3 separate regions of the Homo sapiens genome follow, and regions 1 and 3 are each linked to region 2. The links are contacts of gene promoters, found by promoter capture Hi-C in blood cells and fetal thymus (Javierre and others, 2016). All regions are on one chromosome and are shown on one strand. Each heading gives the region's core, a stretch centred on a gene start or on the middle of the fragment in contact. The rest is flanking DNA. Distances are from core to core; before and after follow the strand shown.

What was found. The method cuts DNA at HindIII sites, captures the fragments that hold promoters and counts their contacts. A CHiCAGO score of 5 or more calls a contact.
Region 1: a contact is called between a fragment that was not itself captured here and the fragment with the promoter of VAV3-AS1 in region 2, in 13 of 17 cell types (activated CD4 T cells, megakaryocytes, total CD8 T cells and 10 more). The highest score is 9.1, in activated CD4 T cells.
Region 3: a contact is called between a fragment that was not itself captured here and the fragment with the promoter of VAV3-AS1 in region 2, in 16 of 17 cell types (megakaryocytes, M0 macrophages, M1 macrophages and 13 more). The highest score is 28.8, in megakaryocytes.

Annotation. Positions count from the first base shown.
Region 1 is chr1:108,099,285-108,102,328 of GRCh38, forward strand. No RefSeq gene overlaps it. Among named protein-coding and RNA genes, the nearest start is that of LINC02785, 36 kb to the left of the region's middle. The HindIII fragment of the contact is 4,273 bases long and covers 1-3,044 here.
Region 2 is chr1:107,962,921-107,966,078 of GRCh38, forward strand. VAV3-AS1 (VAV3 antisense RNA 1) reads left to right here and starts at 1,523. Exons shown (of 3, transcript NR_046653.1): 1 at 1,523-1,584. It overlaps VAV3 (vav guanine nucleotide exchange factor 3), which reads right to left and starts at 2,260. Exons shown (of 27, transcript NM_006113.5): 1 at 1,746-2,260. The coding sequence starts at 1,949. RefSeq lists enhancers at 1,271-1,400, 2,747-3,041, 2,977-3,046. The HindIII fragment of the contact is 9,456 bases long and covers 1-1,540 here.
Region 3 is chr1:108,117,404-108,120,572 of GRCh38, forward strand. No RefSeq gene overlaps it. Among named protein-coding and RNA genes, the nearest start is that of LINC02785, 54 kb to the left of the region's middle. The HindIII fragment of the contact is 315 bases long and covers 1,476-1,790 here.

The DNA.
Region 1 (3,044 bases), core at 518-3,017, 140 kb after region 2:
GACTTTGGAAAGCTCCTGGTGGTCCACTGACCCTACCAGTCATTAATACCCAGTTACATGTAGGATGAGTCTAAGTGACGATGGAAGACATGGAGTGTGCATCCTTCTACCTTCCCTTCCCAGTCCTGTAGCAGGCATTAGTAATCAATCACATCACTTTTGTGCTATACCTAGATCCGACCTCAGATTCCTTTTCAGGACAACGCATCCTGCAGGTAGGAACATCAACCAGAATGATGGTAAAATTGAAGTTGAAGTGGAAAATCATTCATTTAGAGACTTCATAACATCTGCTGGTCTCAGACAGTTATTACCACAAAAAAATTATATTTTAAAAAAACACAAAACTCAGTGGTTTAAAGCAACCGTCATTTGTTATTGTTAACACATCTACAAGTGGGCTGACCTAGACTAGGCATGGCTGAGCAGCTGTGCTCCACATGTCTCTCATCCTCCTTGGACCAATAGGCTAATCCAGGCATGTCCTTCTCATGGTGATGACAGAGGCACAAGATGGCCTGCGGAAATGTACAAGGCCTCTTATGGCCTACGTTTGGAATCAGTACACTGTCACTTCTACACACATGACATTAGCAAGAATAGATCACAAAGCTGAGCCCAAAGTCATGGAGTAGGGAAATACATTTCAGCCACAATGAAGCCATAGCAAGAGTATAGAAGCAGGGAGCAGCAAAGAACTGGATAATGCAATCCATTAATACAATCTACCATAAGGCCCTCATGAAAGATCATTGTCGGCTCATAATAAAATCTGTAATTTTCAGTGCCAACAACCTTGAAAAATTCTGCCTTATTTCATAAGGCATTTACCCATGTCAGCTAACAATAGAAGTGAACGATTGACCCTAGGAGCATTGAGGTGAGCCTGAAATCCACTGGTTGCAGAAGTGTTACCCTTGGGACTCTAAGCCAACACATAGAACTATAGCAAGAGTGGTGGTTATATTAAAGTGGCTAAGATCATCATCCTAACTGAATTAATGCAGGAACAGAAAACCAAATACCACATGTTCTCACTTACAAGTGGGAGTTAAACATTGGGTACATCTGGACACAAAGATAAGAACCATAGAGACTGGGGACTACTTAAAGTGGGAGAGGGGAGGGGAGCAAGGGCTGAAAAACTACCCATTGGTACTATGCTCACTACCTGGGTGATGAGATCATTTGTACCCCAAACCTCAGCATCATGCAATATCGCCATGTAACAAACCTATATGTATACCCCCTGAAATCTAAAATAAAACTTGAAATTGTTTTTAAAAAATTACTATCCAAAGGAAAATATCAGTGCTATGCATCTGAAACCTAAGAACAATGTTTTATTAAAATTACAATGACAAAAATAACTATCTATTCAGTTATTTGCTCTATTTGCTCCCTGAGAGGCACTTACTATAATCTCACAGGCATTCAGTGACAGTCACTTTCATTTAAAGGCTCCGATTTGCTTCTGTTACTCAGTTCTATTTATGAGAGAGGCTACTATGTTTACTACGTGAGTTTGATAGTCTTAAAAACACAAATATAACTTAATGGTAATCATAAGTACTGAAGTATTTACGGTGCTGTAAATTTTTGATTTATTGATGCAATAAATAAAAGAATTGCTAAGAAAGAATGTTTCAGCCATACAATACTGTGAAGCATGCCATTTTAACTACAGATCTTCACAATGTGAACAGCAATTGTATAACTTGATGGTATATATTGTATTCATAAGCAACATTTTAACACCAGTTAGAAGAAAAATATGAATACATTTGCTGGCTTCACCAATCCTATAAATGTCTTTGAATAATTTTTCTACCAAGAAAGCCAAATTTCTTGAACTGTTGTTAAACACCATCAGCATATACAATTTGTATTTGTCCATTTAAAAATAAATTTTTAAAAAGATAGCTAAATTTCAAAATACTTGTATTCCTGATTCCTTCCAATACACCTTAGTCTCAGAACTTCCAATAAAGATTTTCGTGCCTTGCTCTTTCTTCATGCTCTCATCTACAATCATTAAAGACCACATGGGGAGGAGTGGAGGGAGAAGAAAGATCGTTTTAAAAACTAGGTGGCAGAATCCTTTTAAAACAGAAGGATCATTTGTAACATATTGGCTTTTGATTGTAAAAAGATCCCCCTTAAGATGGGTTCAGGATAGGCCACGGATGAAGTAGAGATAACTAAATTGTTCTACATAATAAATAAGTTTTTGTGGAAGAGGTAGAGGGAATCTGAGAACAGTGTAGAAACTCAGGGAGAAGATAAGATAGAGAGACAAGGCAAGTACAGTGGCAGGAGGTTGATACCAGAGAAGAGATCACTATGGAGAAATTCAAAGTTGTGGGCATGGTGGTCCATCTTGATGAACAGGGACAGCTAATATTCTATTTCATATTACTCTCTGGGCTCTGCTGCAGTGTCACACAAACCTGACATCAACCTCCAAACCATCATCATCTTATTTCATTGAAATAAGAAAAAGAAACTGTTCCCTTTAGGTTGACCAAGAGCAAAGTAAGAAAAATATTCATGAAAGATGAAATACCTCAAGGAAGAACTTGGTGGAAGCAGAAAATGTGAGCAAGAGATGACTAGGAGAAATGCAAATAGGATTGCCAGATAAAGGATCCTTAGTTAAGTTTTAATTTCAGATAATATTTTTATAAAAATAAAGTACATCCCAAATATTACCTGATAAGTTTTTATGCTAAATACAATTATATTTTTATTTGCTAAATCTGGAACTCTAAATGCCAGCCTCCTCCACCCAAGAACCTTCTGCTCTACTGAAGGGAGTGTATATTTCTCTTTTTAATTTGGCTTCAAGCCAGTTGTATTTAAATTCATTAAATATACCTTCTACCTTTCAGCAGACAGGAGGACCTGAGAAATTTTGGACAACTGATAAATAGGTAAGTGTATCAAATTACCTTGTTATTAGCTAGTAATCAAAACTAACCCAGTCATCCACAGCTAAGCACATTTTCTATTGCCCATGTCTTTTTGGTGGTGTTGCAGCACTT
Region 2 (3,158 bases), core at 273-2,772:
CCCCCACTAGGGAACAGAACTCTTAGAGCATTGTATGTGCTCAATTTTCATTAATGATGCTTATAATGACAATCTTTGGTCATCAGAAAGATTAAATTACATCTAACATAAGAGGAGAAGAGTGAAACACATTCAAAACGATTCTCATCCATTGTTAGCATTCAAATAAAGGCTTCGAGGTTTAAAAAGGTCTTCAGCTGTCCAGAAAACGTGATTATTGAGAGCAACTGCTGAGAGTTCCAGGAAACAAGTTCCAGGAAATGTGCACAGTACTGTACTCCCTACTGGTGGGCCAAGGCATCCTGACCCACGCTGCCTCCTGAGGCTACAGGCAAAGTGGAAAATGGGGATGTGTGAGAGTAGCTAACTGCAGCTCCCACCATAATAGAAAAGTCTGCCAAACCCCTCAAAGGAATTTCCAGAGTTGAGACAACTCTGAAGGGGTACCGAGAGGTAGCAATCACCATGCATGTTTATGGGGGTATAAAATAATTTACCTCACTTTTAAATACGTATGGCTCTCCCCACTTCCATGCCTGTTCTTTCTTAGGGACTGCCCACCAGCAGGTTGAAGGCAAACAGGCAAGGAATGCAGAATCTGAAGTGCAGGGGACCCTGATGAAACACTGACACCAAGAATCACAGATGACTGTGTGTGCTCTAACTTTAAATACATACTTATTAAATCATATAAAGTCCGTTCCTTCTTAAAAGGCGCTGCTCTGGTTGCTAAGTAGCTGAGGCTCTGCGTCATAGAGGATTAGTGCTGAAATGTGTCAGGGAGAGGGCTCTGTCCTCTCCCTTTTAAGTTGAAAGCAGTTTGGTTTTTTGTTTTGTTTTAACATTCTGAAAGAGAAAGAGGCTCTGAACCGAGTTTAACATCCTTCTGTACAAAAATTTTCCGACAGGACAAATAAACTACTCTTCCACTGAACTGTGACTTTTGAGCTGACTCTAGGGTGCACCCAACCTTCCAGAGGTGTCTGGCTTAACCCTCAAAGAGGCAGCTCCAGCCCCAGGAGCCGACCGGCACCACAGCACCTGAGCAGGGCACTGCAGGAAGGAAAGCGGAATCTCTAGTGAAACTTCTCATTTCCTGTCGCTGCTGAGAGAGGCTGGACTCGCTCCTTCTCACATGGCTTAGGAAGAGCTGTAAACGGGAGCTTGCCGGCTGGCCACCAGCTCAGGGGCCCTGGGGGCGGCCTCCGGGTTCTGCTCCCTGTTCTTCCCTTTGACCAATGTCACTCCTGGACAGATAACGGGACCAAACGCCCTTCACTTCCTCGAGTCCTCATGTATGTCATGGTTCCTCTTTTAGGAAAACATGAGTACAAGACGCAAAGCAAAAGAAGAGACTAAAGGCAAATTACCCCATCACCTCGTTTCGTCCCTCCCCTTCGTTATTATAGAAGAGCTTGATCAAATTCCCTTTGTCGCGCCACACACACGCAGAGTAGGTGAAGGGCACCCTAAGACAACTTATTTCTTTCCCGCCTCACAGAAAGCCTTTACGAAATCCTCACACCATCTCCGGACGCAAAGCTTTCGCATTCAGCTTGAGGAGCTAAACCATTTCAAGCCAAGGTAGGAAACGCCAAAGTGGTGCCGAAGTGGTCCCAAAGCAGAAGGCTGGGAAGCAGGGCAAGCTCAGCGCACCTAGACGTTTGCATTTACACAAAGAAATTAGCCGCATGATTAATGGGAGCTGCCGGCTGGAGGCGGGGCGCCCGTGCCGGCCTCCTCACCTGGGACATCTGCGGCCTCAGGTTGATCTCCTTCAGGTTGATGGAGTGCGCCCGGAGGTTGTTAAGCAGCTGGCAGAGCAGGACTCCATCGCGGAGGGTCTGCGCAAGGTCGAACACCTGAGCCGAGTCCCAGGTCACCCGGTGGTTGGTGGGCAGCACCTTGCAATGGATGAGCCACTGCGCGCACTGCTTCCACGGCTCCATGCCCGACGGCTCCGGGACGCGGCTGGGCCGGGGCGGGCGGCAAGGATGCGGCCGCCGCCGCCGCCGCCGCGGTTCCTCCGCGCCCCGCCGACGCCAACAGCCGCCGGCCCTTTCCCCGCGCGGGATCGAGGGAGCAGGAGCCGCGGCTGACGGGTCGCGGGCGCCGCGCTAGGCTCGGCTCCGGTCCCGGCCCGGGTGCGCCGCGACCCGGCCGCCGCTGCAGCGAGTCCCGCGCGCTCTCCGTGCGCCCCGGCCGGCTCGGCGGCGGCTGCCGCGCACAGGCTTCCGACTCCAGCGCCCGGCCCGCCACTGAGCATGCCCAGCACGCCGGCCGGTCTCGCTGCGGTCCGCAAGTCCCCAGACGCGCGGGTGGGAGCGCGCCGGCGGCCGGGGCTGGGGTCTGTGGCCGAGGGCGGGGCGCGGGGGAGGGGCCGGCGGAGGGGGGCGGCGGCCAGAAAGGGGATCCCGCGCCCCCGCCTGCAGCCTTGCGGGGCTCACGCAGCCCCCGGCGTCCTGGGGTCTTCTCTCGGGGCGGCTTCCCGGCTTTGCGGGGAGTGTGGCTGAATACTGTAATACGATGGGGTCCCCCAGGACCCCCTAAACAACAAATGCTCAAAGGAGCGACGGATTAATTGGGGCACCCAGACTCCCCAGAGCAATGAAAAAAGTGCCTAGAGCATCAGTAGAGCACGGCGCTGAAAGTTTTAGAGATCGTCGCCCCCTCGCCCCTTGCAGCTCTATCCCCTCCATTCTCTATAGCTGATTCCTCAGCCTATTCCTCCTAGTTGCCCCTAGTGGTGTTTTGGCACCCTCAAAGTGAGTGAGAGTGCGTGTGTGGAGACGCCTGCGGAAACCGCCCCGATCCCTGAGCCTATTTCCTCGCGAGGTGATTTTCACTTGGAGCTGGTTTGCCCCTGCACTGTCAGGCTCGGAACTGTTTGCCGTTGCTGTTCTGGCCCTTTTGCTGACCCCACAAAAACCTGCTTGAGAAAGGCCTGTGCCACGGTGCTAGACTGCGCATGCGTCGGCGACTGGCGGCCGGGTTTGAGAGCAAAGCGCGTTAGCCCTGGGCAGCTCCTGCCGGGCTGTTCTGGGATCCTTAGTGAAAGTTGGAACTTGACCCCAGAACTTTTGCGCAGTGCACAAGCAGTGCATTCGTGTTTCTTAAGTAAATCTTTTGGAGACTCTAAACCCTACCCCTTTTACTCC
Region 3 (3,169 bases), core at 383-2,882, 150 kb after region 2:
AGTGTCTATTTGCTGTGGGACTTTAGACCAATTGCATCATCTCTGAGGTTAAGTTTCTTCAGGTAGATAACATAAGGGCAATCATGCCTCATTCACCTGGCTGTTGTGAGGAATAAAAGACATAATGTATGTGAAATTCTTAGAATGGTGCCTGGCATTTTGGAAGCACATAATACACAAAAGTAATTATTATTAGTAGTAATATTAGTATTAGTATTATTAAAATATGTGTAAAAATCTCTCTATTCTAATTAACATATTTTTCAAAATAGAAATGAAAAAGTTAGATAGCTGATGAGGGAAAGAATAAGACAAAACTCAGCTCCATTTACTATGTATGTATTGAGTGCCTATTATATACTAGACGTTAAGATACAAAGATGTGTAGGACCTAGTCCCCTGCCTTTAAAAAGCTCAGAGTCTAATTGTGATGATAGATTAAACTAAACCTCTAAATATGATGTAGAACCTCTAATCTGTGCAACAAGAGGAGTAGAACAAAGAAACTAGCAATTCCTTCTTCAGCTGGTTGGAGAAACTGGACTAGGAAGGCTTCAAAGGGAAGCTGACATTAACCATGAAGTTCTGGCAGCAGGAAAAGCCATGTACCAAGGACAGTTCAGGCAAAAATGGAGCCACCACATTTGTGGGGATCTATTAATAGATGTGAAAGTAAAAGGGATGACAGACCAGACTCCAGAAGCATCTGAGGCCAAAAACAGGAGGAACTTTGAATGCCAGGGTGCAGAACTTCACCCTGGCAGCAGTGTGTGGATATGAAGGGAGTAGGCTGAAAGAGGAGGAGTCAGCTCATGAACACAGCAAGAGCAAGGGGTTACAGAAGACAGGCTGTGGAGGAGGCAAAATCCACAGTCATTGATGATGCATGGTACATGGGGGAAGAAAGAAAAAGAGGACTGAAGATGGTTGTCAGGCTTCCAGCTGGCGCAACTGGTTGAGCCTCTGAAATACAGAGTTCAGGAGAGAGCTGTGCAATGGGTGGGTTCATAAGGCTGATATTATAACAAGCCAGCCAATTCCTGTGCTGCCAGGCCTGAGGGTGTGAACGGTTGGTGGCGTTGCCAGATCCTGCAGGGTGATCTGATGGGCAAGATTAGGAAGAAGCTAGAGGTAGGGAAAGGCAACTGCTAGCCTTCTGCTCTCCACAGAACCCTGGAAAATGGCATCCACCAGCCAGTGATCACGTGCTTCAATATGCCCTAGAATGGCCCAGCCCCACATCTGACTCATCATCTTTCGCAAGCATTTCTATTTAAATCTTCCAGGCCACAAGTGCTGCAGACACAAAGGATGGAAGTATGTAATCCTGTATTAGAATCCCTGGTATCTGTGTGCTTAATCTTTCATATTTTCAATTAAATCATGAGGAAATAATTGTGCAAACCATAAATTCACCATCCACAGGGAAGTGATTCATTTATTATCCTTGAGAGGTTTGTAGCAGGGCATCTAAAAGCTTTAGATAAGGAGCTAATTTAATTTTGGTTCTCCTTTTGCTAAGATTTCTTACTCTGGGGTAATATATACAAAATAGGAAAAACATGTGAGGTCCGTAGGTCAAGAATATTAGCATGATTATTAATAACCAGAAATGTGACTTTCATACTGTTTTACTTCTTCAGTCTCCAAAGTTCTTTCTCACCTACTATGTCAATTCTTCTTAAAGGTAACATAAATAAAGCAAAAATTCCAAAAATGAAGTAGCTAATTTATGAGGGAAGCAAACTGTACTTTGGGAAGAGTCTTACCTTCAAATGTAGATATTGCCAAGCTTACAATACTTTGAATCATAGAATTCTTTTGCTGAAGGAAATCATTCCAGAGAACTTGGCTTGTTTGGGAGGTGAAACAGCGAACGCGCAGAGCAGATTGATAGCTTGAGGACACTCCCAGTTGGTCAGGAAAGGTGCAGGGACCAGAACCCGGGTTTCCTACCCTCAATCCAGCATTCTCCCCTCCACCCCTTACTGCTTCCCTAGCTGTCACTTACTCATTCTTTCAAAAATCAGATTTCAAACTTCAAACTAAAAATGGTATCTGAATTGTAATTATCTATATTTGAGTCCATCTCTCTTATTCCATCTCTCCCTAGTGACTTTAACCTCTTCCCTCGCTGTTTTTTTCTCAAATTCATAAGCCTACCACCCTTGAAAAAAAGCATCCCTTTGATCACGCGTCCCTCTCAGGTTGCCTCCTCCCCTTCTTCCCTTCAAGCCCAGCTTTTAGAAAGAATGTCTACCCTCCTGAACGCCTCTTCCTTCCCTCCCCTTCACTCCTCAGCTCACTGCCATCTGGAGTCTGTAGCTGCCACTCCACCAAACTGTTCTCACTGAAGCCTCAGACCTGGCACAACTCAAGGACCTTGCTCTTTTTGGACATCTGTACTACATGGAACGGTGTTGATCACTCCTTTCTTTTGGAAACACTCATTCCCTAACTACTGTGATATCAGCTCTTTGGTGTTTCTTTCCTTCTCAGTCTCCCTAATTGACACTTCACTTTTATGAGCCAGTGAAGCCATGAGGGTCATGGGTTGACAAATCTGGCAGGGGCAGAAGAGAGGCACAACTCTCCCAGATACGGCTCCCCCCAAAACCTTGCATCCACCACCCCAAATCAGAAATTTCATTTTCCTTCTTTCAGTTATTCATCCAACAAATATTTATCAAGTACCAACCGTGTGCCAAATAATGTACACAACGCATGGGGATACAGACATGAGAGAGGTAAGGGCTTACTTAGCCTCTGCCTTCAGTCCGCACCTGCCTCCCATCCACTCCTCTCCAACCCATCCACCTTTCGGAAAGATGCAGCTAAGCATGCATTCCCCTTTGATTAAATCCTCCAGTGGTTCTCTTATCAAACCCAGTGCCTCAGCGTGCCATATAACTGGTACTAACCTATCTTTCTAACCAAAGCTCTCACCACTCTCCCCAGGGAGCACTCCAGCCTCACAGAACATCTTTGCAATTTCCCCAGATGTACCTATCCTGCCTGTCTGTATGCCTTTACATACGCCGTCTCCTTTCTCCAGAACATGTCTCACTTACCTTCTTTGTGTGGAAATATTCTCCATGTCCCCCAAAGACAGCAAAAATTTCATCTCACCTCTCACACCTTGTCGACTGCCCTGCCCATTGTTCTCATA